Regions from separate parts of the Homo sapiens genome. Here region 2 is linked to region 1. The links are contacts of gene promoters, found by promoter capture Hi-C in human tissues and cell types (Jung and others, 2019). All regions are on one chromosome and are shown on one strand. Each heading gives the region's core, a stretch centred on a gene start or on the middle of the fragment in contact. The rest is flanking DNA. Distances are from core to core; before and after follow the strand shown. Region 1 holds the start of SLA2 (Src like adaptor 2). Region 2 overlaps NDRG3 (NDRG family member 3).

Evidence for each region. Contacts are between HindIII fragments. The study calls those that stand out against the background at their distance.
Region 2: a contact is called between a fragment that was not itself captured here and the fragment with the promoter of SLA2 in region 1, in 3 of the 25 tissues and cell types used here (IMR-90 fibroblasts, dorsolateral prefrontal cortex and heart left ventricle).

Annotation. Positions count from the first base shown.
Region 1 is chr20:36,642,701-36,648,414 of GRCh38, forward strand. SLA2 (Src like adaptor 2) reads right to left here and starts at 3,496. Exons shown (of 8, transcript NM_032214.4): 1 at 3,137-3,496. RefSeq lists an enhancer at 129-799. The HindIII fragment of the contact is 4,817 bases long and covers 122-4,938 here.
Region 2 is chr20:36,711,161-36,716,874 of GRCh38, forward strand. All of the region lies in intron 2 of NDRG3 (NDRG family member 3), which reads right to left. Among named protein-coding and RNA genes, the nearest start is that of NDRG3, 32 kb to the right of the region's middle. The HindIII fragment of the contact is 6,918 bases long and covers 194-5,714 here.

The DNA of each region.
Region 1 (5,714 bases), core at 2,246-4,745:
TCAGCCTCCCGAGTAGCTGGGATTACAGGCATGCACCACCACGCCTGGCCGATTTTGTATTTTTAGTAGAGATGGGGTCTCCCCATATTGGTCAGGCTGGTCTTGAACTCCCGACCTCAGGCGATCCGCCCTCCTCGGTCTGCCAAAGTGCTGGGATTACAGGCATGAGCCACCGCACCCGGTCCTTTTTTCTTAAGTTACGGGCTCATGCCATGTTGCCCAGGCTGTTCTTGAACTCCTGGGCTCCACCAATCCTCCCACCTCAGCTTCCCAAAATCCTGGGATTACAGGTGTGAGCCATGGGACCCAGCCTCCCTTGGGAAGTTTTCATCATTCATTTGAGAGTTTACTTGTTTAATCTGCCACTATCCTGTAACTGCATGAGGACAAAGACTTCTTTTGTTTGCCTATTACTCAGCATTTAGTGAGGCATCACAGAAAGCACTCAGCACACATTAACTAAATGAGACTGTTAGCTCTTCAGACAGGTAGGTGTCTTATCGTTAGAATAGTTTAAATCCCCGGATTTCCAGGGTAGTGCTGATTTTTCCAAACACTATTTTAAAGTGTTTGGGGAGTGGGAGGCGGAGCTTTGTCTTTCTTTTCAGATGGTTTCATTCTTTTCAGTAGGGACAAGGCACAGTTACACAATTGGCCCAGTTCAGCTGATATTCATGGAGCTTCTGCTCTGTGTCAGGCACCTGCCAAGGACTGGTGGTCCCTGGAGGGGAACCCATGCACCTTACTCTGGAGGAGATCACTGAATGGGGTGGTGACAGAGTGGGCTCATTCCTTGCCTTTGAACCCCACACTGCCTGGATGAGGACGGGCGTCCATCAATATCATGGAGTGATTTCTGTGGCGTCCTGGACCAGTCCTGTCTGGGGAGTAAAGATCCTACCTTAGAGCATGGAACAGCCCTCTCTGTTCTTCAGTCTCATGTTGTTGACATGGGAATAACAATACCTGGGCCGGGCGCGGTGGCTCATGCCTGTAATCCCAGCACTTTGGGAGGCCGAGGTGGGCAGATCACATGAGGTCAGGAGTTTGAGACCAGCCTGGCCAACATGGTGAAACCCTGTCTTTACTAAAAATACAAAAATGAGCCGGGTGTGGTGGTGGGTACCTGTAATCCCAGCTACTCGGGAGACCGAGGCAAAAGAATCACTTGAACCTGGGAGGCAGGGGCTGCAGTGAGCCGAGATTGTGCCACTGCACTGCAGCCTGGGCGACAGAGCGAGACTCTGTACCCCCCTCCCGCCCCAAAAAACCTAATACCTGCTTGCTGCTCCCTCCGTATGGGGAGTTCGGCATTCATCTGGAAGGGAGCTCTTGAACACAGAATGGGCATATGGCATGGAAATGGGTCCTGACAGCCACTTCCTGCTCAGCCTTTTAGGATCCTGCAGCCTGGGTACACTGAAATGGTGCTGCTGTTCTTGAGGAGGTTTTTTGTTTTTGTTTTACATTATTGGGGTCTTGCTGTGTTGCCCAGGCTGGTCTTGAACTCCTGGGCTTAAGCGATCCTCCTGGGGAGGATTTTTACAAACCCAAGACCAGGAAACCCCAGGGAGAGAACCTCTGGCTTGGGTAGCATGAGTGCCCACTTGAACCTGGCTGGAGCTGTGTGGCCTCAGGCAAAGCATGCAAGCTTCCCCCGTCTCATCTGTGAACAAGGTGCACTACAGGCGCCACGGGGCTGTGGGGAGAGTTGCAGGAGTCTGGCACAGAGTGGGTGCTCAGTAAGGCTTAGTTTCCTTTCCCCTCCTTCAGGAAGACCACAGTTACCACCTGCAATAAACTGAGAGACTCCTTCCTGCCGCAGGTGGAGCTGGGGGCTGGGCCCAAAGGCAGATGGAGACAGGGGAGCTGTACTCAGGCTGAAAGCCTCCCCAAAGTCTCTGCAGCTCCCTTCACCTGGTCAAGGACTTGGTCAGGTCAAGGCCAATAAGCCCCTGGGGGCAAAATAAAGACCATACAATGGGCCAGCCTAGGAGGAGGCAGAGTATTAGCCGCACATTTTGTAAGACAGCATCAAATCATTAACTCTACAAATTTTTGAAAAACTTACTATGTGCCAGGCACTTTCCGGAGGACATGAGGCATCGGGTGAAAGGAAAAAGTTAGTCAACGGCAGCCGAGATGAGCACGCTGCCCAGAATATTGTGTTTTTTTTTTTTTTTTTTTTTTCAGTATCTCACTTGGGTCCCATTTCAGATACAGTGACCAAGTCCCTGAGAGGACAACCATGTGATTCTGTTCATGTAGCCCATTCGTGCAGGACTGGGCCTGCCATCATGTGTATTTTGTGCTTCTGAAGATCATTTTTCAGCAGTGGGGGTAAGAGTGATGAATTTGGCCAGGCACAGTGGCTCATGCCTGTAATCCCAGCAATTTAGGAGGCTGAGACAGGAGGATTGCTTGAGGCCAGGAGTTCGAGACCAGCCTGGGCAACATAGTGAGAACCCCCACCCCCACCCCCACCACCGCCTGCCATCTCTACAAAAATATAACGAATTAGCTGGGCATGGTGGTACATGCCTGTAGTCTCAGCTACTTGGGAGGCTAAGGCAGGAGGATCACTTGAGCCCAGTGGTTCAAGTCTATAGTTAGTCATAATTACGCCGCTGCACTCCAGCCTGGGTAACAGAATGAGACCCCAACTCAAAAAAAAAAATGAATTTGGATTGAGTTAAAGGGAGACCTCTCCCTCTCTTCCAATTGAGAAATATCACCCCTTTGAGAGTGAGAGTGCACTGTAGGCTCTACAGCTGAAATGTCTTGAGAGATGGTAGCCCTCACGTTCCTGACTTTGGAGTCTGACTGCAGCGCAGAGAGGGGCCCAAAGTCACACAGCAAGTGCGCACCTGAGATGGGACTAGGACGGGCGTGAAGACAAGCTGCACGGAAGAGCGTAAGCTCCAAGAGGAGGTCAAAGGTGGAGCAGGTGAGTCTTGGTTCTTCTGGGACCCCCAGAAACCACCCCTCTTTACAGCCTCAGTAGAACCACTCCCCCTTCTCCTTGAGCTTGTTTTTTTCCCAACAGCAAATAAAGCCCAGTCCCAGTCGGGGCAGGGGAGACCATTCTTCCTCACCTGTCTCCAGGCCATCCAAGAACAAAAGCAAGCATACTTACTGGTTTGTCATCAAAGGCTTGGGAAGACAGCTCTGCTGAGACGCATGCTCTGGCTGGACAGGTTAGGGCTTTGGGGGCCCTTCTGGAAGTCTGCCAGTGTCCTTGGTCCTAGGACACCCAGAACTCTCTCAGCCTGGGAGGATCTTCAGGGAGAGGCTAGGTGTTGGTTTGGGTAGCTCAGCATCTGTCTGCAGTCAGCAGTTTGTACACCAGGGATGGATCAGCTGCCCCATGCTCCTTAGGGATTCTGGACTGGGGAACCCTCCCAAGCACAGCCGAGCCAGGGAGGGAAGGCCCAGGGCCCTTTGAGCTCTGTCACAGAGACACAGGCGTGGGGTCCTTGGAGCTCTAGCTCCGACTGCAGACTCTGTGGTTCTCACAACCACCCGTTTCCTCTGACGGCATCACAGACCGTCGAGGAGCCACCTTCCCCAAGTTCCTGTTTCTAGGGGAGCAGCTGCTGCCTTGTCATGATCGTGGAGCAAAAGGTTTTTCTCTGGCTTTGTGGCTTAGTCTTGTCCAAGGAACACAGGACTGAGGAAAATGAGCCGGAGTTCCCATGCTGGCCTGACCATAATAATCACTCAGCGGGACTTAATTGTAGCAATTTCTGGGATCTCCCAAACTTTCTAAATCCAAGTCTCCAGATAGGGAGCCCAGGAATCTAAATTTTAAACCCTGCAGGAGATTCCCTTGACTGACGAGTGTGGGAAGCACTGCCTTCTCAGCCTTTAATGTGTATAGGAATCACCTGGGGATCTTGTTGCACTGCAGGCTCTGATTCAGAAGGTCTGGGGCAGAGTTCAGTATTTTGCATTTCTAATACGCTCCCAGGTGACCCCCATGTTGCCAGTCTGGGGACCACACTTTGAATAGCAGCAGTATCTGGACAGTGGTCTCCAAGTATGGTCCCTAGACCAGCAGCCTCAGCGGGAATTTGTTAGACATGCAAATTCTCAGGCCGCATCCCAGATCTATGGAATCATACTCTGGAGGTAGGCCCAGCAATCTGTTTTCATGCCTCCAGGTGATTCCGATGCATGCCCAGGCTTGATTTTTTTTTTTTTTTTTTTTTTTTTTTTTTTACAGGGTCTTGCTTTGTCACCCAGGATAGAGTGCAGTGGCACAATCATAGCTTAGTGCAGCCTTGACCCAGGCTCAAGTAATCCTCCCTTCTCAGCCTTGAGTAGCTAGGACTACAGGTGTGCACCAGCACTCCTGGCTAATTTTAAATTTTTTTTGTACAGATGAGGTTTCACTGTGCTGCTCCATCTAATCTCAAACTCCTGGCCTCAATTGTTCCTCCCACTTCCACCTCCCTAAGTGTTGGGATTACAAGCATGAGCCACAGTCCATGCCCAAGCTTGAGAATCACTGGTCTAGGATAAAGAATCTGACTCTGGCTGAATTGTCTTTGATCAGTGTGTTACCTTCAGTCCCACTCTTCATTAAGATTTAACCACACCCTCTCGCTGCTTCCCCATTAGGGGGATTAGTACTCTTGGAGACAAAGGGCCCACTGCACTGAAATGATTCCTGACTCCAGCTCAGCCCATGCAGCCCTTTCTGGGGCCTTGCCAGCTACAGCACTCCTGCTCAGGTTCTCCTTTGATCCTAGGGAAGGCTGGTTTGATTTTTATCCTTGTAGGCACTTGGCACACAGAGCTGAAGGAGCCAGAGTGGAGGCACACTTCTGCAAGAGAGTTCTAATCAGGACGTTAGAATGGGTGACAGCCACTCAGGGATGTGGGCCTTGGCAGGGAGGGACTTGAGCTTGAGCCCACCTTCCCACTCCTGCTGCCATACAACTGTAATGCCCGTCTTCTTATGATACGCACATCTTCAAAACAAGCCTCAAGGTGCAGTTCATGAATGGGGCAGGAAGTAGGGAATCTCTGGTCTCTTCTTAAAAGAATCCCACGGCATAACTCTCCTTTTCTACTTAGGGAGGCACCTAAGAATTACAAAATTTAAAATCCTAGGTCTATCCACTAAGAAATATGCACTGGTGTTCCTCCCTGGCTCCTGGCCAGAGCTGCTAAAACCCTTCTAATTTCCTCGGTGACAGAAGTGTTTTCTGTTCTAATGAGGCAACACTTGGTGGGCTCCTGGATGGGGACTGGTCACTAGAAAGACAAAGCCATCATTATGAGCTTGGGGCTTTCAGTCCCACCTCATCCTCTGGAGTGGGGAGAGGAGCTCGAGATTGAGTTAATAATTGATAATGCTTATGTGATGAAGCTTCCATAAAAATCCCTAAAGTACGAGGTTCAGAGAGTTTCCAGGTTGGTGAACACATCCAACACACCAGAAGGGTGGCACACCCCAACTCCCTGGGACCCCTCCAGACCTTGCTCTATGTATTATTATTATTATTTTTAGACAGATTCTTGCTCTGTTGTCCAGACTGGAGTGGAGTGGCACAATTTAGGCTCACCGCATCCTCTGCCTCCCGGGTTCAAGCAATCCTCTTGCCCCAGCCTCCTGAGTAGCTGGGATTACAGGTGTGCACCACCACGCCCAGCTAATTTTTGTATTTTTAGTAGAGACGGGGTTTCATCATGTTAGCCAGGCTGGT
Region 2 (5,714 bases), core at 2,403-4,902, 69 kb after region 1:
AGTCCCAGCTACTCACGAGGCTGAGGCAGAATGGTGTGAACCCGGGAGGCGGAGCTTGCAGTGAGCAGAGATCACGCCACTGCACTCCAGCCTGGGCGACAGTGCGAGACTCCGTCTCAAAAAAAAAATAATAATAATAAATAAATAAATAAATAAATACAAAAATGTAAAGATTGACCTAACCTTTTAAGGAATGATTTATAATGATGCCTAAACAGACCATATTAGGGCTTCAATCTAACAGAATTCCCAAAGGTTCCTTTAGGGATTATTTTAAGATTAGAAAAAATCACTCTAGATTGAATTAAAATCTCATAGAATATAGAGCCACAAATTCTGACGAGCTCTTTGGGAAGCAGCTGTCATTGTATCCATGAATTCTCCCTTCTTACAATGATGTGACCATGACCATGAGGCATTCTGTAAAGCCCTCGGTCCCTGACATGAGCACAAAGGGGCATGCCAAAAGCAGAAAGCCAATGCCCTCAAGAACCTCAAGCTATGTCTTATTTGTTGAGTACCGAGCAAAAAACAACTCTGTGTTCTCAATCCCATGTTCCTAGCTATACTCCCAGATAAAAGGTACCAATAACTGAGTGAAGACTATTTAGCACTTGTTTTCCTGGCTGTTTTTTTGAGACGGAGTCTCGCTTTGTCGCCCAGGCTGCAGTTGCAGTGGCACGATCTTGGCTCACTGCAAGCTCCGCCTCCTGGGTTCACGCCATTCTCCTGCCTCAGCCTCCCAAGCAGCTGGGACTATAGGCACCCGCCACTGCGCCCGGCTAATTTTTTGTATTTTTAGTAGAGACGGGGTTTCACCATGTTAGCCAGGATGGTCTCGATCTCCTGACCTCGTGATCTGCCCACCTCGGTCTCCAAAGTGCTGGGATTACAGGGGATTACAGGTGTGAGCCACCGCACCTGGTTGTTTTTTTGTTTTTTTTGTTGTTGTTTTTTTTTGAGAGCGATCCCAGACCCTCTTGAAGAATGGCTTCTAGCTTCATGAGTAATCACCCTGGAAAATGGGAATGACTGGGTCTATTTGACAGTAACTGGCTCCAGAGTTTCTGAATGGGGATCATTAGCTGGTCCTTCACTCAACTGTGATTAACTGAGGCCATATTATTTATTCTCTGTACTCATTAAAAGTTCAGTACTGCTCATTGGGGGCATTCTAAAAGGCTGAGTACCTTCTGGGGCCCTTCCCTAGAGACTTGTTTCTTTTTCTTTTTCTTTTTTTTTTTTTTTTTCCTGAGATAGGGTCTCGCTCTGTCAGCCAGCCTGGAATGCAGTCGCATGATCACAACTCACTGCAGCATTGACCTCCCAGGCTCAAACGATCCTCCTGCTTCAGCCACTTGAGTAGCTGGGACTACTGGCATGTGCCACCATGCCCGGCTATATATATATATATATATATATATATATTTTTTTTTTTTTTTTTTTTTTTTTTGAGACGGAGTCTTGATCTGCTGCCCAGGCTGGAGTGCAGCGGCATAATCTCCATTCACTGCAACCTCCGCCTGCCAAGTTCCATCGATTCTCCTGCCACAGCCTCCAGAGTAGCTGGGATTACAGGCACACGCCACCATAACTGGCTCATTTTTGTAGTTTTAATAGGGACAGGGTTTCACCATGTTGCCCAGGGTGGTCTCCAACTTCTGGGCTCAAGCAATCTGCCCACCTTGGCCTCCCAAAGTGTTGAGATTACAGGCGTGAGCCACTGCACCTGCCCTGTTTCTTTTTCCTTCTGAGACAGAGTCTTGCTTTGTCACCCAGGCTGGAGTTGCAGTGGCATGATCATAGCTCAGTGCAGCCTTGACCTCTGGGCTCAAGCAATCCTCCTGCCTCAGTTTGTTTGTCTCTGATGTTCACAGTATATGGTTCCACTCTAACAAAACTTCTAGAAATTTCAGGCTATGGGTGCTTTCTTTTTTTCTGTCCATTTTGAAGATGCCATTAATTCCATATTCAGAGAAATTCTTACACTAAGCAGACTTAAGCAGCAGAAAGGGATTCAAGGAAAAAATTAAAACAACAGAATAATTTGAAGAGGAAAAAAATCAAGGAAAGCCATTAATTATTACTGAAAGTTGCAGTCAAAGTAGAAGCCAGCTAAGAGGAATGTTTTCTGATGGAGCTTAGTGGCCATATGTAAAAGGTAAATAAAGCAACCCAAGAAGGTAAATTAAAGCAAGCAAGCCTCACAGTTACAAGCTTAGAGAATAAGCAAAAAGAAACTAGGAACGGGTCAATGATTAAAGTGAATTATGAAAAAAAAGGGGGGTGTGAAAAGCAGAAATGTTTCAAAAACAAGTCATTGCTAGGGAGAAGAGAGATGTAGTTTCCTAACATGAGATCTGGTCAAAAGGCATCAATAGTTTCAAAAGACAGAAGCAACAGACATAATGTAAAGAAAGATGAGATAGTTGAAAGATGAGATAGATAAGACCTTAGACCAACTATCAATAGAAAGAGATTTTGGGTGAATTTACCTGTTCTGTGAATTTAAAGGAAAGGTCCATTTCTGATTCACCATTCTATTCCTGGTCCTGACACTTAATGAGTGCAATAAACATCATTTTGTAGAGGTTATGAACCTCTCAAAATAGAGATACTTGATTTGAGGAAGAAACGAATACCAAAGAGGAAAGGTTACACGTAATTGACATGCTAGGGACTAAAGTGGAGAAAATGAGTTGGTGCAATAGTAAAAGCTTTTAGAAATAAGCTGATAAAAAACTGTTAAAGAGAATAAAATATGACTTTGTATTAAAAAGCCATACACAAAAAAGATAATCCTTCCCTACAAAAAGTGGAAACAAAGATGGGGGATTGTACAAGCAAGAAGAGTTACATATGCTCAGAAAATACTCAGTTTTTCTTTAATAATAAAGATTCATATAATCAACTAGTATAATAAATCGGTGTATTAAAATCATCAGCAGGGCCGTGCGCGGTGGCTCATGCCTGTAATCCCAGCACTCTGAGAGGCTGAGGCAGGTGGATCATGAGATCAGGAGTTCGAGACCAGCCTGCCAAGAGACCAGCCTGGCCAAGATGGTGAAACCCCATCTCTACTAAAAATACAAAAATTAGCAGGGCGTGGTGGTGGGCACCTATAATCCCAGCTACTCGGGAGGCTGAGGCAGGAGAATTGCTTGAACTGGGGAGGCAGAGGTTGCAGTGAGCCGAGACCACATCATTGCACTCCAGCCTGGGCAACAGAGCAAGACTCCAACTCAAAAAAAAAAAAAAAAATCTTCAGCAAATCATTTTCTTCTTTTTTTTTTTTTTTTAGACAGAGTTTCGCTCTTGTTGCCCAGGCTGGAGTGCAATAGCGCGATCTCGACTCAGAGCAACCTCCGCCTCCTGGGTTCAAGCCATTCTCCTGCCTCAGCCTCCAGAGTAGCTGTGGCATGTGCCATCATGCCTGGCTAATTTTGTTTTTTTTTGTTTGTTTGTTTTTTTGAGACGGAGTCTTGCTCTGTCGCCCAGGCTGGAGTGCAGTGGTGCAATCTCGGCTTATTGTAAGCTCCACCTCCCAGGTTCACGCCATTCTCCTGCCTCAGCCTCCCAAGTAGCTGGGACTACAGGCACGTGCCACCACGCCCGGCTAATTTTTTATTTTTAGTAGAGACGGAGTTTCTCCATGTTGGTAAGGCTGGTCTCGAACTCCCGACCTCAGGTGATCCGCCTGCCTTGGCTTCCCAAAGTGCTGGGATTACAGGCATGAGCCACCGCGCCAGGCCCAGCAAATTGTTTTCAAGTAGAAATCTGTTCAAACTGATAATCCAGGGATAAGAATGAAAATCCTATATCTGTGTGTGTGTGTGTGTGTGTGTGTATATATATATATATATATATATATATATATATATATATATATATATATTATATTTAAGTATCTATAGCAATCATTACCTTCAAAATATACTAAGAAACAGACTTCATAAAGAAATTTATAAAGAGGTTGGATACTTGGATAAAACTATCTACAATCAGATAATCCTCTGCAGATTGCTGAAAAAGTACAATTTCCACTCTAAAAATCCCATGGGCACTCTGCTAAGGTGTGGCTAAGATGTGGATCTCTTGCCTCCTGTAACTGGTTGAGGGTCATCTGGTCTGTAACGGTGGCATCACTACCTGCTTCGGAACCCATTTCTTGCTGCAGTCCCGTCTAGAGCACTTCTGACAACAGATGTAACCATCATGTCTTAGTACATTAAGGGACACCCACTCTAGTCCACACTAGATGTAGCACTTCATGAATATTCTTTGATGAAAATGTCAATAAATCTATTTTTAATTACAGCTGTTTCTTCTTTTCTCTCTCTCCCCCTAGGTTTTTTTTTTTTTTAAACAACCTTGGAGCTGGGTGCGGTAGCTCATGCCTATAATACCAGCACTTTGGGAGGCCGAGGCAGGAGGATTGCTTGAGCTCAGGAGTTTGAGATCAGCGTGGGCAACAAAGTGAGACCTCTTCTCTACAAATAACTTAAAAATTGGCCAGGCATGGTGGGCACACCTGTGGTCCCAACTACTTGGGAGGCTAAGGTAGCCTCCCAAGTAGGTGGGAATTGCTTGAACCCAGGTGGTAGAGACTGCAGCAAGCCATGGCCATGCCACTGTACTCTAACCTGGATGACAGAGACCCTGTCTCAAATAAAAAAAAGATCCTGGGGCCAGGCACAGTGGCTCACGCCTGTAATCCCAGCACTTTGGGAGGCCGAGATGGGTGGATGGCTTGAGCCCCAGAGTTTCAACATGGCAAAGCTCCGTCTCTAAAAAAATACAAAACGTAGCCAGGCATGGTGGCAAGAGCTACTCAGGAGGCTGAGGCAGGAGAATCACTTGAGCCCAGGAGGCTGCAATAAGCCATGATTGTGCCACTGGACTCCAGCCTGGGCAACAGAGCAAGCCCTTGGCATAAACGCTTTGGCTGTCTCTGTTGTCCTGGAGGTTACAAAATGTTGTTCCCAGGGTTCTCCCTCCTCTAGTTCTAACACCCTCCTCCCTCCTCTGCTTACATGTTGTGATTAGTAGAAAAGGAAAACTTAAACTGCAGTAAGATTTACCTCACTTTCAGGTGGGTGCGGTGGCTCATGCCTGTAATCCCAGCACTTTGGGAGGCCGAGGCGGACGGATCACTTGAAGTCAGGAGTTCAAGACCAGCCTGGCCAACATGGCAAAACCCCATCTCTACTAAAAATACAAAAACTAGCTGAACATGGTGGCAGGTACCTATAATCCCAGCTACTTGGGAGGCTGAGGCAGAAGAATCACTTGAACCTGGGAGGCAGAGGTTGCAGTGAGCCGAGATCATGCCACTGCACTCCAGCCTGGGCAACAGAGCGAGACTCCATCTCAAAAAAAAAAAAAAAAAGATTTACCTCACTTTCTACTGTAACAACCAAAACAAAGTATATAACTTTTTTCTGTTCTCTCTACTAAACATTTATTCCCCTTTCTGCTATTTCCTCAATTCTTCAGAAGCCAAGTGTGGCCTTCTACTTGTTTTCTCAAGCCTCACCTTTGGCTTTCACAGGGTTCAGTAGTATCTGAACCTAGTAGGTAGAGGAAGGCAGGGAAAATGAGGCAAAACAGTCTACTCTCCTGTTTATTACAAGGTCTTTTGGGTGAGGAGCCTGGAACAACCAGGTACAAGAGGCAGTAGATGGTGGGAAGAACCCTAGACCCCCAGGTCCAGG